Regions from separate parts of the Homo sapiens genome. Here all the other regions are linked to region 3. Evidence: promoter capture Hi-C in human tissues and cell types (Jung and others, 2019). All regions are on one chromosome and are shown on one strand. The core of a region is centred on a gene start or on the middle of the fragment in contact, and the rest is flanking DNA. Distances in the headings are between cores, read along the strand shown.

Evidence for each region. The method cuts DNA at HindIII sites, captures the fragments that hold promoters and counts their contacts. A contact is called where the count stands out against the background at its distance.
Region 1: a fragment that was not itself captured here is called in contact with the fragment with the promoter of COMMD5 in region 3 in 14 of the 25 tissues and cell types used here (H1 embryonic stem cells, IMR-90 fibroblasts, adrenal gland and 11 more).
Region 2: a fragment that was not itself captured here is called in contact with the fragment with the promoter of COMMD5 in region 3 in 3 of the 25 tissues and cell types used here (dorsolateral prefrontal cortex, mesendoderm cells and thymus).

The regions. Positions count from the first base shown.
Region 1 is chr8:144,975,101-144,978,751 of GRCh38, reverse strand. It overlaps the pseudogene ZNF252P. Among named protein-coding and RNA genes, the nearest start is that of ZNF252P-AS1, 26 kb to the left of the region's middle. The HindIII fragment of the contact is 3,341 bases long and covers 157-3,497 here.
Region 2 is chr8:144,953,971-144,957,888 of GRCh38, reverse strand. No RefSeq gene overlaps it. Among named protein-coding and RNA genes, the nearest start is that of ZNF16, 5.0 kb to the right of the region's middle. The HindIII fragment of the contact is 6,539 bases long and covers 1-3,918 here.
Region 3 is chr8:144,851,705-144,855,216 of GRCh38, reverse strand. COMMD5 (COMM domain containing 5) reads left to right here and starts at 2,169. Exons shown (of 2, transcript NM_014066.4): 1 at 2,169-2,378. RefSeq lists enhancers at 1,549-1,648, 2,199-2,528, 2,106-2,954 and a silencer at 1,939-2,128. The HindIII fragment of the contact is 6,847 bases long and covers 1-3,512 here.

The DNA of each region.
Region 1 (3,651 bases), core at 578-3,077, 120 kb before region 3:
TTGCTTTACCAGCATGCTTCTCTTTTTCCTCTCCCCAATGGGGTCATATTTGTTGCTTTTTTTTTTATTTGCATTCTGAATATCAGTATTATCCTAGAAGATATTTGTTTGATACAAATATTTCTGTTTATTCTCTAATTCTTTCTTCCATAGTAAAATGCAAGCGATTCACTTTTTTTTTCTTTTTCATTCTTTCAGGCTGTGATTCTAGGATTGAAAAAGAGGAAATGATTCCAAAGCAGGACATTTCTGAAGAATTGGAATCCCAGAGAGCAAAATCAGAAGATCATGTAAGGAATATTTTTAAGGAAACTGAAGAGATGAGTAAAACTGAGGGAAAGTTAGAGAATTGCTGGAGAAAATATGCAGTAGAAGGAGTTAAGAACTCATTCTCCCAGAAGAGCAATTTCAGAGAAATTACCATGAGGTATGTGAAAACCCTCTCTAGAGAGAATGGCCAGAAGTTCAATGCTGTTGGAGAAAACTGCATTACAGACTCAAATCCTGCCAAACATCTTAGAGGGTCTAGAGAGGAGAGTCTCCATCCAAGTGTGTCAAGTGTAGAAAACTTGCAACAACATGAGGACCTCATTAACCTCCAGAGTTTCCAATTAGGAGAAAGAGCCTATCAGACAGATGTGTTAGTGAAAGTGCCCAGACAGAGCTCAGTTCTTAGTGAGAATCAGAGGATGAATAATCCAGAGAGATGGTTTGAGAGTACTGGGTGTGGAAAAACTTACAATCAGAACAGAGCTTTTAACCAGCACCAGAGATTTCATAGTGGAGAGAAGACCTATGAGCACAATGAATGTGGAAAAGCTTTCAGTTGGCCCTCTATCCTCAGTAAACATCAGAGAATCCACACTGGTAAGAAACTCTACACATGTGAGGATTGTGGCAAATCTTTCAGTGTTCACTCATACTTTATTCAGCATTGTAAAATTCACACTAGAGAAAAACCCTATGAGTGTATTAAATGTGGGAAAGCTTTTAGTACACATTCATCTTATGTTCAACATCTAAAAATTCATACAGGAGAGAAACATCATGAGTGTAATCAGTGTGGGAAAGCCTTTAGTCATAGCTCTAATCTAATTCATCATCAGAGAATTCATAGTGGAGAGAAACCTTACAAGTGCAAAGAATGTGGGAAAGCCTTCAACAGACAATCAAACCTTATTCAGCATCAGAGAATTCATTCTGGAGAGAAACCTTATGACTGTAAGGAGTGTGGCAAAGCCTTCAGTACACAATTATTTCTCATTCAGCATCAGAGAATTCATACAGGAGAAAAGCCCTATGAATGTAATGAATGTGCAAAATCCTTTAGCCTGAACCGAACTCTTACTGTCCATCAGAGAATTCACACTGGAGAGAAACCTTATAGGTGTAATGAATGTGGGAAATCCTTTAGTCAATGCTCACAAGTTATTCAACATAAGAGAATTCACACTGGAGAGAAACCTTATATCTGCAATGAGTGTGGAAAATCATTTGGTGCTCGTCTATCCCTTATCCAGCATCAGAGAATTCACACTGGAGAGAAACCTTATGGTTGTAGTGTGTGTGGGAAAACCTTTAGTCAAAAGGGACATCTTATTCAGCATCAGTGAATTCACACAGGAGAGAAACCCTATGAATGTAGTGAGTGTGGAAAAGCTTTCAGCCAGAGTTTTAATCTTATTCACCATCAAAGAACACACAATGGTGAGAAGTCCTATGAATGTAATGAATGTGATAAAGCCTTCAGTTTGCTTTCTTCCCTTGTTCAACATCAGAGAATACATAATGGAGACAAACCCTATGAGTGTCACAAATGTGGGAAGGCCTTTAGCCAGGGGTCACACCTTATTCAGCATCAGAGGAGTCACATTGGTGAGAAACCCTATGAGTGTAATGAGTGTGGGAAAACCTTTGGGCAGATATCCACCCTAATTAAGCATGAGAGAACACACAATGGAGAGAAGCCCTATGAGTGCAGTGACTGTGGGAAGGCCTTCAGCCAGAGTGCACACCTTATCCACCATCAAAGAATTCACACTGGAGAGAATCCCTATGAGTGCAGTGAATGTGGGAAGGCCTTCAATGTTTGTTCCTCTCTCATTCAGCATCACAGAATTCATACTGGTGAGAAACCTTATGAATGTAGTGACTGTGGCAAGGCGTTCAGTCAGCATTCACAATTTATCCAACATCAGAGAATTCACACTGGAGAGAAACCCTACATGTGCAATGAGTGTGAGAAATCCTTCAGTGCATGCTTATCCCTTATCCAACACAAGAGAATTCACACTGGAGAGAAACCCTATGTATGTGCCAAATGTGGAAAATCCTTCTGACAAAGCTCTCACCTTATTCAACATCAGAGAATTCACAGTGGGGAGCAACCTCATACGTGTAATCGATGTGAAAAAACCTTCAGTTAGAGAATAACTCTTAGTAGTCATGAGAAAATCCATACAATTCACATTAGAGAGCAAGTCTATGAATGTAGTAAGTGTGGGGAACTCTAGCGCACAGTCATCTTTCATTCAACATTGTACAGTTCACAGTGGAGAGTAACTGATTAGTCTATAAATTCTTCACAGTTATACATTATATGAGAGTCATACTCGTGAGAAATGAGTCACTTTATGGTTTTCCTTTTGGAGATTCAGCTCTTAAGGGATTTCACTCTCCCAGTGAGCTGCTAACTAAAGGCAGGCTGCTGAAGTATATAGCAGCAATCCCACAATAGCACACCTTGCTTCAGATTCAGAGGATGAGCCCCCTTCTTGAGCCCTGTAGATATGTGAAACTTAATTATTTAGATGCATTTCATGGCACCAGACCCTAAGGTACAGTTAGGTATTTCACTGGAGACCACTTACTTTGCTTTGCTTTGCTTTTTTTTTTTTTTTTTTTTGTATGATTTATTTCAACTTCAAAGAAAGTAGTTGAGATCCTTGCACTTCCAAGTGTGATGGAACCAGGCTAGGGTTTTCTTTGTTTGTTTGGGCCTCTTCAAAACGTTTTTATTCTGTTATAAGGAATATGATACCTTAAGCTTCAATTCACAGGGAAGAGAAACATGATTATAAGCAAAAGTTTGTCAAGGAATAAGGTGAGTCTTTGTGTAGATTAAAATAGTTGAGACCTTGCTAAAAAGTCAGATAACACTGTAATCCACCTCCAGGTTTCCAAGAGTTAAGACGCTGCCAGCAAGGAGCTTGCAGTCTTGTAGCTGGCCCAATATATCCAACTAATTCAAAATGGGAAATTGTACATTTTACTTAAACAGGATTTGGTAGATGGGTCTTCTAGATATGTTGTCATGAAGAAAAATCAGGAAAATGTCCAAGGGTGGGAGCCTGTGGCTTATGGCTTCACTTACCCATCACAGATAGCTATGTTACACTGCAAGAACAGAGTTCATGGCTTTTCCTGAGGTGGCTGGAAACCTTAATCTCCTGAAGTTAAGTCAAAACTTAAATGTCAATTCACCCAGCTCTCTTGCCTGCAGGCTGATCCAGGGACTTAGAGCTTGTTACCCAGTTACAACTTCTTCTAGAGAAGAACTTTTAAGAAGGAAGCAAAAAGAAATTCAGTTTCCCCCAAGGATCTCTTCTTTGAGGTTCCATCAAGAGATGACAAAAGGAGGCTGGGCGCGGT
Region 2 (3,918 bases), core at 1,115-3,614, 100 kb before region 3:
ACAATAATAGAGTAGAGGCAGCCAAGTAGCAATGTATTTCTGAGTTGCAATTACTTGCCTCCAATGTGAGACAAATCCCAGCCACATCTCCAGCACACAAGAACTCCAAACGCCTGAACCACAGCTGCCAGGAGTTCCTCCAGGACCTCCTCCCCCAGGAGCTTGCTACAGGTGCCAGAAATCTGGCCACTGGGCCAATGAATGCCCACAGCCCAGGATTCCTCCTAAGCCATGTCCCATCTGTGCGGGACCCCACTGGAAATCAGACTGTTCAACTCACCTGGCAGCCACTCCCAGAGCCCCTGGAACTCTGGCCCAAGGCTCTCTGACTGACTCCTTCCCAGATCTCCTTGGCTTAGCTCCTGAAGACTGACACTGCCTGATTGCCTGGGAAGCCTACAGGACCATCACAGACACTCTAGGTAACTCTCACAGTGGAGGGTAAGTCCGTCCCCTTCTTAATCAATACAGAGGCTACCCAGTCCACATTACCTTCTTTTCAAGGGCCTGTTTCCCTTGCCTCCATAACTGCTGTGGGTATTGACGGCCAGGCTTCTAAATCTCTTAAAACTCCCCAACTCTGGTGCCAACTTAGACAATACTCTTTTAAGCAATCCTTTTTAGTTATCTCCACCTGCCCAGTTCCCTTATTAGGCCGAGACACTTTAACTAAATTATCTGCTTCCCTGACTGTTCCTGGACTACAGCTACATCTCATTGCCGCCCTTCTTCCCAATCCAAAGCCTCCTTTGTGTCCTCCTCTTGTATCCCCCCACCTTAACCCACAAGTATAAGATATCTCTACTCCCTCCTTGGTGACCAATCATGCACCTCTTACCATCTCATTAAAACCTAATCACCCTTACCCCACTCAATGCCAATATCCTATCCCACACCATGCTTTGAAAGGATTAAAGCCTGTTATCACTCGCCTGCTACAGCATGGCCTTTTAAAGCCTATAAACTCCTCTTACAATTCCATTTTGCCTGTCCTAAAACCAGACAAGCCTTATAAGTTAGTTCAGGATCTATGCCTTATCAACCAAATTGTTTTGTCTATCCACCTGCAGTGCCCAACCCATACACTCTTTTGTCCTCAATACCTTCCTCCACAACTCACTATTCCATTCTTGATCTTAAAGATGTTTTTTTCACTATTCCCCTGCACCCCTCATCCAAGCCTCTCTTTGCTTTCACCTGGACTGACCCTGACACCCATCATCGGTCCCAGCAGCTTACCTGGGCTGTGCTGCTGCAAGGTTTCAGGGACAGCCCTCATTACTTCAGCCAAGCTCTTTCTCACGATTTACTTTCTTTCCACCCCTCCACTTCTCACCTTATTCAATATATTGATGACCTTCTTCTTTGTAGCCCCTCCTGTGAATCTTCTCAACAAGACACACTTCTGCTCCTTCAGCATTTATTCTCCAATGGATATCAGGTATCCCCCTCCAAAGCTCAAATTTCTTCTCCATCCGTTACCTACCTTGGCATAATTCTTCATAAAAACACACGTGCTCTCCCTGCCGATCATGTCCCACTAATCTCTCAAACCCCTACCCCTTCTACAAAACAACAACTCTTTTCCTTCCTGGGCATGTTTAGATACTTTCACCTTTGGATACCTGGTTTTGCCATCCTAACAAGACCATTCTATAAACTCACAAAAGGAAACCTAGCTGACCCCATAGATCCTAAATCCTTTCCCCACTCCTCTTTCCATTCCTTGAAGACAGCTTTAGAGACTGCCCCCACTCTAGCTCTCCCTGACTCATCCCAACCCTTTTCATTACACACAGCCGAAGTGCAGGGCTGTGCAGTCAGAATTCTTACACAAGGACCAGGATCGCGTCCTGTAGCCTTTTTGTCCAAACAACTTGACCTTACTGTTTTAAGCTGGCCATTATGTCTCTGTGCAGTGGCTGCTGCCACCCGAATACTTTTAGAGGCCCTTAAAATCACAAACTATGCTCAACTCACTCTCTACATTTCTCATAACTTCCAAAATCTATTTTCTTCCTCATACCTGATGCATATACTTTCTGCTCCCTGGCTCCTTCAGCTGTACTCACTCTTTGTTAAGTCCCACAATTACCATTGTTTCTGGCCCGGACTTCAATCCGGCCTCCCACATTATTCCTGATACCACACCTGACCCCCACAACTGTATCTCTCTGATCCACTTGACATTCACCCCATTTCCCCATATTTCCTTCTTTCCTGTTCCTCACCCTGATCACACTTGATTTATTGATGGCAGTTCCACCAGGCCTAATCACCACACACCAGCAAAGGCAGGCTATGCTATAGTACAAGCCACTAGCCCACCTCTTAGAACCTCTCATTTCCTTTCCATCGTGGAAATCTATCCTCAAGGAAATAACTTCTCAGTGTTCCATCTGCTATTCTACTACTCCTCAGGGATTATTCAGGCCCCCTCCCTTCCCTACACATCAAGCTTGAGGATTTGCCCCCATCCAGGACTGGCAAATTAGCTTTACTCAACATGCCCTGAGTCAGATAACTAAAATACCTCTTAGTCTAGGTAGACAGTTTCACTGGATAGGTAGAGGCCTTTCCTACACAGTCTGAGCAGGCCACCGCAGTCATTTCTTCCCTTCTGTCAGACATAATTCCTCAGTTTAGCCTTCCCACCTCTATACAGTCTGATAACAGACAAGCCTTTATTACTCAAATCAGCCAAGCAGTTTTTCAGGCTCTTAGTATTCAGTGAAACCTTTATATCCCTTATGGTCCTCCATCTTCAAGAAAAGTAGAACTGACTAAAGGTCTTTTAAAAACACACCTCACCAAGCTCAGCCACCAACTTAAAAAGGACTGGACAACACTTTTACCACTTTCCCTTCTCAGAAGTCAGACCTGTCCTCAGAATGCTACAAGGTACAGCCCATTTGAGCTCCTGTAGAGATGCTCCTTTTTATTAGGCCCCGGTCTCATTCCAGACAGCAGACCAACTTAGACTGTGCCCCAAAAAAAACTTGTCATCCCTACTATCTTCTATCTAGTCATACTCCTATTCACCATTCTCAACTACTCATACATGCCCTCCTCTTGTTTACACAGCTGGTTTACACTGTTTCTGCAAGCCATCACAGCTGATATCTCCTGGCGCTATCCCCAAACTGCCACTCTAAACTCTTGAAGTAAATAAATAATCTTTGCTAGCAGGACTATGCTGAATCTCCTTAGGCACTCTCTAATTAGATGTCCTGGGTCCTCCCAATTCTTAGACCTTTTATACCTGTTTTTCTCCTTCTCTTATTCCATTTACTTTTTCAATTCATATAAAACCATATCCAGGCCATCACCAATAATTCTACATGATAAATGTTTCTTCTAATAACCCCACAATATCATCCCTTACCACAAAATCTTCCTTCAGCTTAATCTCTCCCATTCTAGGTTCCCACGCTGCCCCTAATCCCGCTCAAAGCAGCCCTGAAAAACATCACCCATTATCTCTCTATACCACCCCCAAAAATTTTCACCATCCCAACACTTTACCACTATTTCACTTTATTTTTCTTATTAATATAAGAAGACCAGAATGTCAGGCCTCTGAGCCCAAGCTAAGCTATCATATCCCCTGTGACCTGCACGTACACATCCAGATGGCTGGTTCCTGCCTTAACTGATGAGATTCCACCACAAAAGAAGTGAAAATGGCCTGTTCCTGCCTTAACTGATGACATTGTCTTGTGAAATTCCTTCTCCTGGCTCATCCTGGCTCAAAAGCTCCCCCACTGAGTACCTTGTGACCCCCACTCCTGCCCACCAGAGAACAACCCCCTTTGACTGTAATTTTCTTTTACCTACCCAAATCTTATAAAATGGCCCCACCCCTATCTCCCTTCACTGACTCTCATTTCAGACTCAGCCCACCTGCACCCAGGTGAA
Region 3 (3,512 bases), core at 920-3,419:
CAAAAAGTGAGAAAGAAACAGAAGATAAATAGCCAGATGACCTTGGTGCCATCACCTGGCCCTGGTGTTAATAATATCAACCCCTAACCTAAACTACTTGTGTTATCTGTAAATTCCAGACATTGTATAAGAAAGCATTGTAAAACTTTCTGTTCTGTTAGCTGATGCTTGTAGCCTCCAGTCATGTTCTCCATGCTTTCCCAGTCTATCATAATAACCCTTTCACGTGGACCCTTTAGGGTTGTAAGCCCTTAAAAGGGCCAGTAATTTCTTTTTCGAGGAGCTCAGCTCTTAAGACACAAGTCTGCCAAAGCTCCCAGCCAAATAAAACCCCTTCCTTCTTTAACCCAGTGTCTGAGAAGTTTTGTCTGTGGCTCATCCTGCTACAATAAGATGAGAGTTCTCCAGGCACTCCAGGCACTCTGGCCTTTGGGTGGGAACTGTCTCCAAAACTCACCCCCAGGTTCCTGGCTCTCCTCACTTCAGGAGGGGGTGGGTCTGCCACGTAACCACCGCCCAGACCTCACAAGTGATAGCACTTCACCTTTTTGCTTCAGATATTTTAAAGAGAAATAACACCTTACAGATGCAGTCTCTTTCTAAACTTCCCAGATCCATTCCCTTTAAACAATCCTCCCTCAGCATGGTTTTTAGACTTGATTTGTTTTGTCTTAGAAATGGAGTCTTGCCATGTTCCCCAGGCTGGTCTCAAATTCCTGAACTGAAGTGGTCCTCACTCTGCCTCTCAAATAGCTGGGACTATAGGTTGCCCTCACCTCCTGCTGTGAGGTCAGTTCCTAACAGGCCACTGACCTGTAGCGGTCCACAGCCTGAGGGTTGGGGACCCCTGCTATAGGTGCACACCACCACACCTGTTTTTTTTTTTAATTTTGTAAAAATGAAGCCTTGATATGTCGCCCAGGCTGGTCTTGAACTCCTAGCCTCAAGTGGTCCTCCCACCTAGTCCTCATAAAGTACTGGGATTGTAGGCATGAGCCACTGCACCCAGTCTCCACTCCTATTTATTATTGAACACTATTCCATTGTATGGCTGATGTGGTTTGCATCTGTGTCCCCGCCCAAACCTCATGCTGAAAGGTAATACCCAATGCTGGAGGTGGAGACTGGTGGGAAGTGATTGGATCGTGGGGGTGGCTTTTCATGAATGGTTTAGTACCATGCCCTTAAGTTATGGTCTCATGATAGAGTTCTCCTGAGATCTGGTTGTCCACCTCCGCCTCCCAAAGTGCTGGGATTACAGGCGTGAGCCACCGCACCCAACCTGTCATTTTTATTATAACCCTTCTAATGGTATGAAATGGCACCTCCCCGTGGCTTCCATTCGCATTTCTCTAATAGCCAACAATGCCGAAGGCTTCATGTACCCATTACCCACTTTGTATCTTCCTTGATGTCTACTCACATCTTCTGCCCATTTAATTAGGTTGTTTCCCTTTTCAGAGTTTTTTTTTTTTTTTTAAGTTTTATTGGGCTATAATTCACATACCATATAATTCACCCATTTTGTACAATTCAATGATTTTGGCATATTATTTTTTAACTATGGTAAAGTACATGTTAAATAAAATGGCTCGGCCATTGTTTCGGACCGAGCTCCTGCGCTAGGGCCCAACAGAGCAGCCCAAAGCGGAACCGAGTCACGCGCGCCGGACGCCACCCGACAGGAGGGGAAACGGGGCAGCTCTCAAAACCCTGGAGGCGCAGACCGTCCACACGGGACAGGGACGCCCGCTCGGCTCCGCTCCGCGCTGATCCTCAAGGTCTCGCGGTTTCCCCGCCGCCCACCCGGACGCCGACGAAAGCCAGCGAGCTCCTCAGCCTCAGGTGACTGGAATTCTGACCCCAGACCACGGGACGCGTTCTCCCGCTTTACCCTCACTCTGCGCGGGCGGGGAGGGAGACGCGGGCGCAGGCCGCAGTTTCTACCTCAGAAACGGAAACACAACACCGCCTTCTTTTTCTTTGGGGAAAGAAAAAAAAAAAACTGTCTAAGACGAGGTCTGGGACCCCGCCGGCGACCCCCGATTCCCCCGGGCGGGGAGGGGGCGGGACCTGGCGCGGCCTCGGCTCCGCCCCTCGGGCCAGCGGACCACAGTGGGGCGGTCATTGCTGCCTTCCTAGAGCGGCCCGGAAGTGGCTCTCAGGGCGCTTCCGGGGACCAGGCCCGCTTTTGGCTGCATCAGCCGGGGATTGCCGGCGCCAGGTGCTGGGGGCGACTCGGACAGCGGGAGCGTGGGGTGGAGTAGGATGGAGTCTCCCTCCCGAGCTGGGGGTGTGGGCCTAGGAAAGGCTGCTTCGCCGCTGTGTTCGGAGAGCTCTGGATACTGCGGGGCTTTTCCGCGGAGGAGCGCCCGCCGGTAGGTTGGCCCCGAACCGTGGGGGCGGCGACGGCCGAGTGCCAATTTGACTCTGTGCACCAAGGTCCCCGCGCCCCGGAACGGGCGACGCCGCGCCCCCATCAGAGCCGCGGGTACGGAGTCAGGGTGCGAACCCGGCCTTCCAAGCCGCGCGACCGGAAGCGGGCAGCTCGGAGGCCTTCCCGGATGGCTCTTTGGAGTGGGAAGGAGCTCCTGGTGCTGGCGGGACGGTGAAGGAGTTGGCAGTGGGTGGTCGTTGACTCCCAGGGAGAATGGGGCGCCGTGAAGCCCGTGGGGAGCTCCTGGGCTCCCCCAGCGCTGTGCAGAGTGGCCTGACAAGTGCCTCGAGGACAGGAGCTGTGCCCCGCTGAGCTCTGCTCCAGTACCTGGTGTGCTGAGGTGGGCACGTGCGTTTCCTCTGGCATAGCAGGTGCTTGTGCTGCTGCACTGCTCCTTCAGGTGCGTCGGAACCCTCTTTAGTTGCCGCACTTGCCTCTGTTGCCAGCCGTTGCTCAGCTCTTCCAGCCCGGGGGTTGGGGCTGTGGTGGAAACAGCTGGGACTTCTGAATAGACAGGTCTAGGCTTCAGTCCTTGACTTTGGCAGCTGTGTTTAGAGCTTTGATTTCTTTTTACTTTTCTTTTCTTCTTCCCTGCCTCCCCTCCCTCCCCCCTCCCTCCATTCGTTCGTTCCTTCCTTCCTTCCTCACAGCATCTCTGTTGTCCAGGCTGGAGTGCAGCGGCTCGATTTCGTCTCACTGCAGCCACGACTTCCTGGGCTCAAGGGATCCTCTGTCCTCTCAGCCTTCTGAGTAGCTGGGACTACAGACGTGCACCACCACGCCTGGCTAGTTTTTTAAATTTTTTGTAGAAACGGGGTCTTGCTATGATGCCCAGGTTGGTCTCCAACTCCTGGGCTCAAGCGATCCGCTGGCCTCACCTTCACAAAGTGCTGAGATTTCAGGCTTGAGCCACTGCACCTGGCCTAGAGCCTTATCTCCCTCTCTGTCAGGTGAGAATGGTAATTCTTCTTGCCCACTGTTGTGAAGGATTCAAGATTGAATAGTTAAATGGTCTCAGTGTGGTCTGTGGCGCCAGCTGCAGTGTCCCTGTGTTCCCCGGACCGTTCCCCTAGTT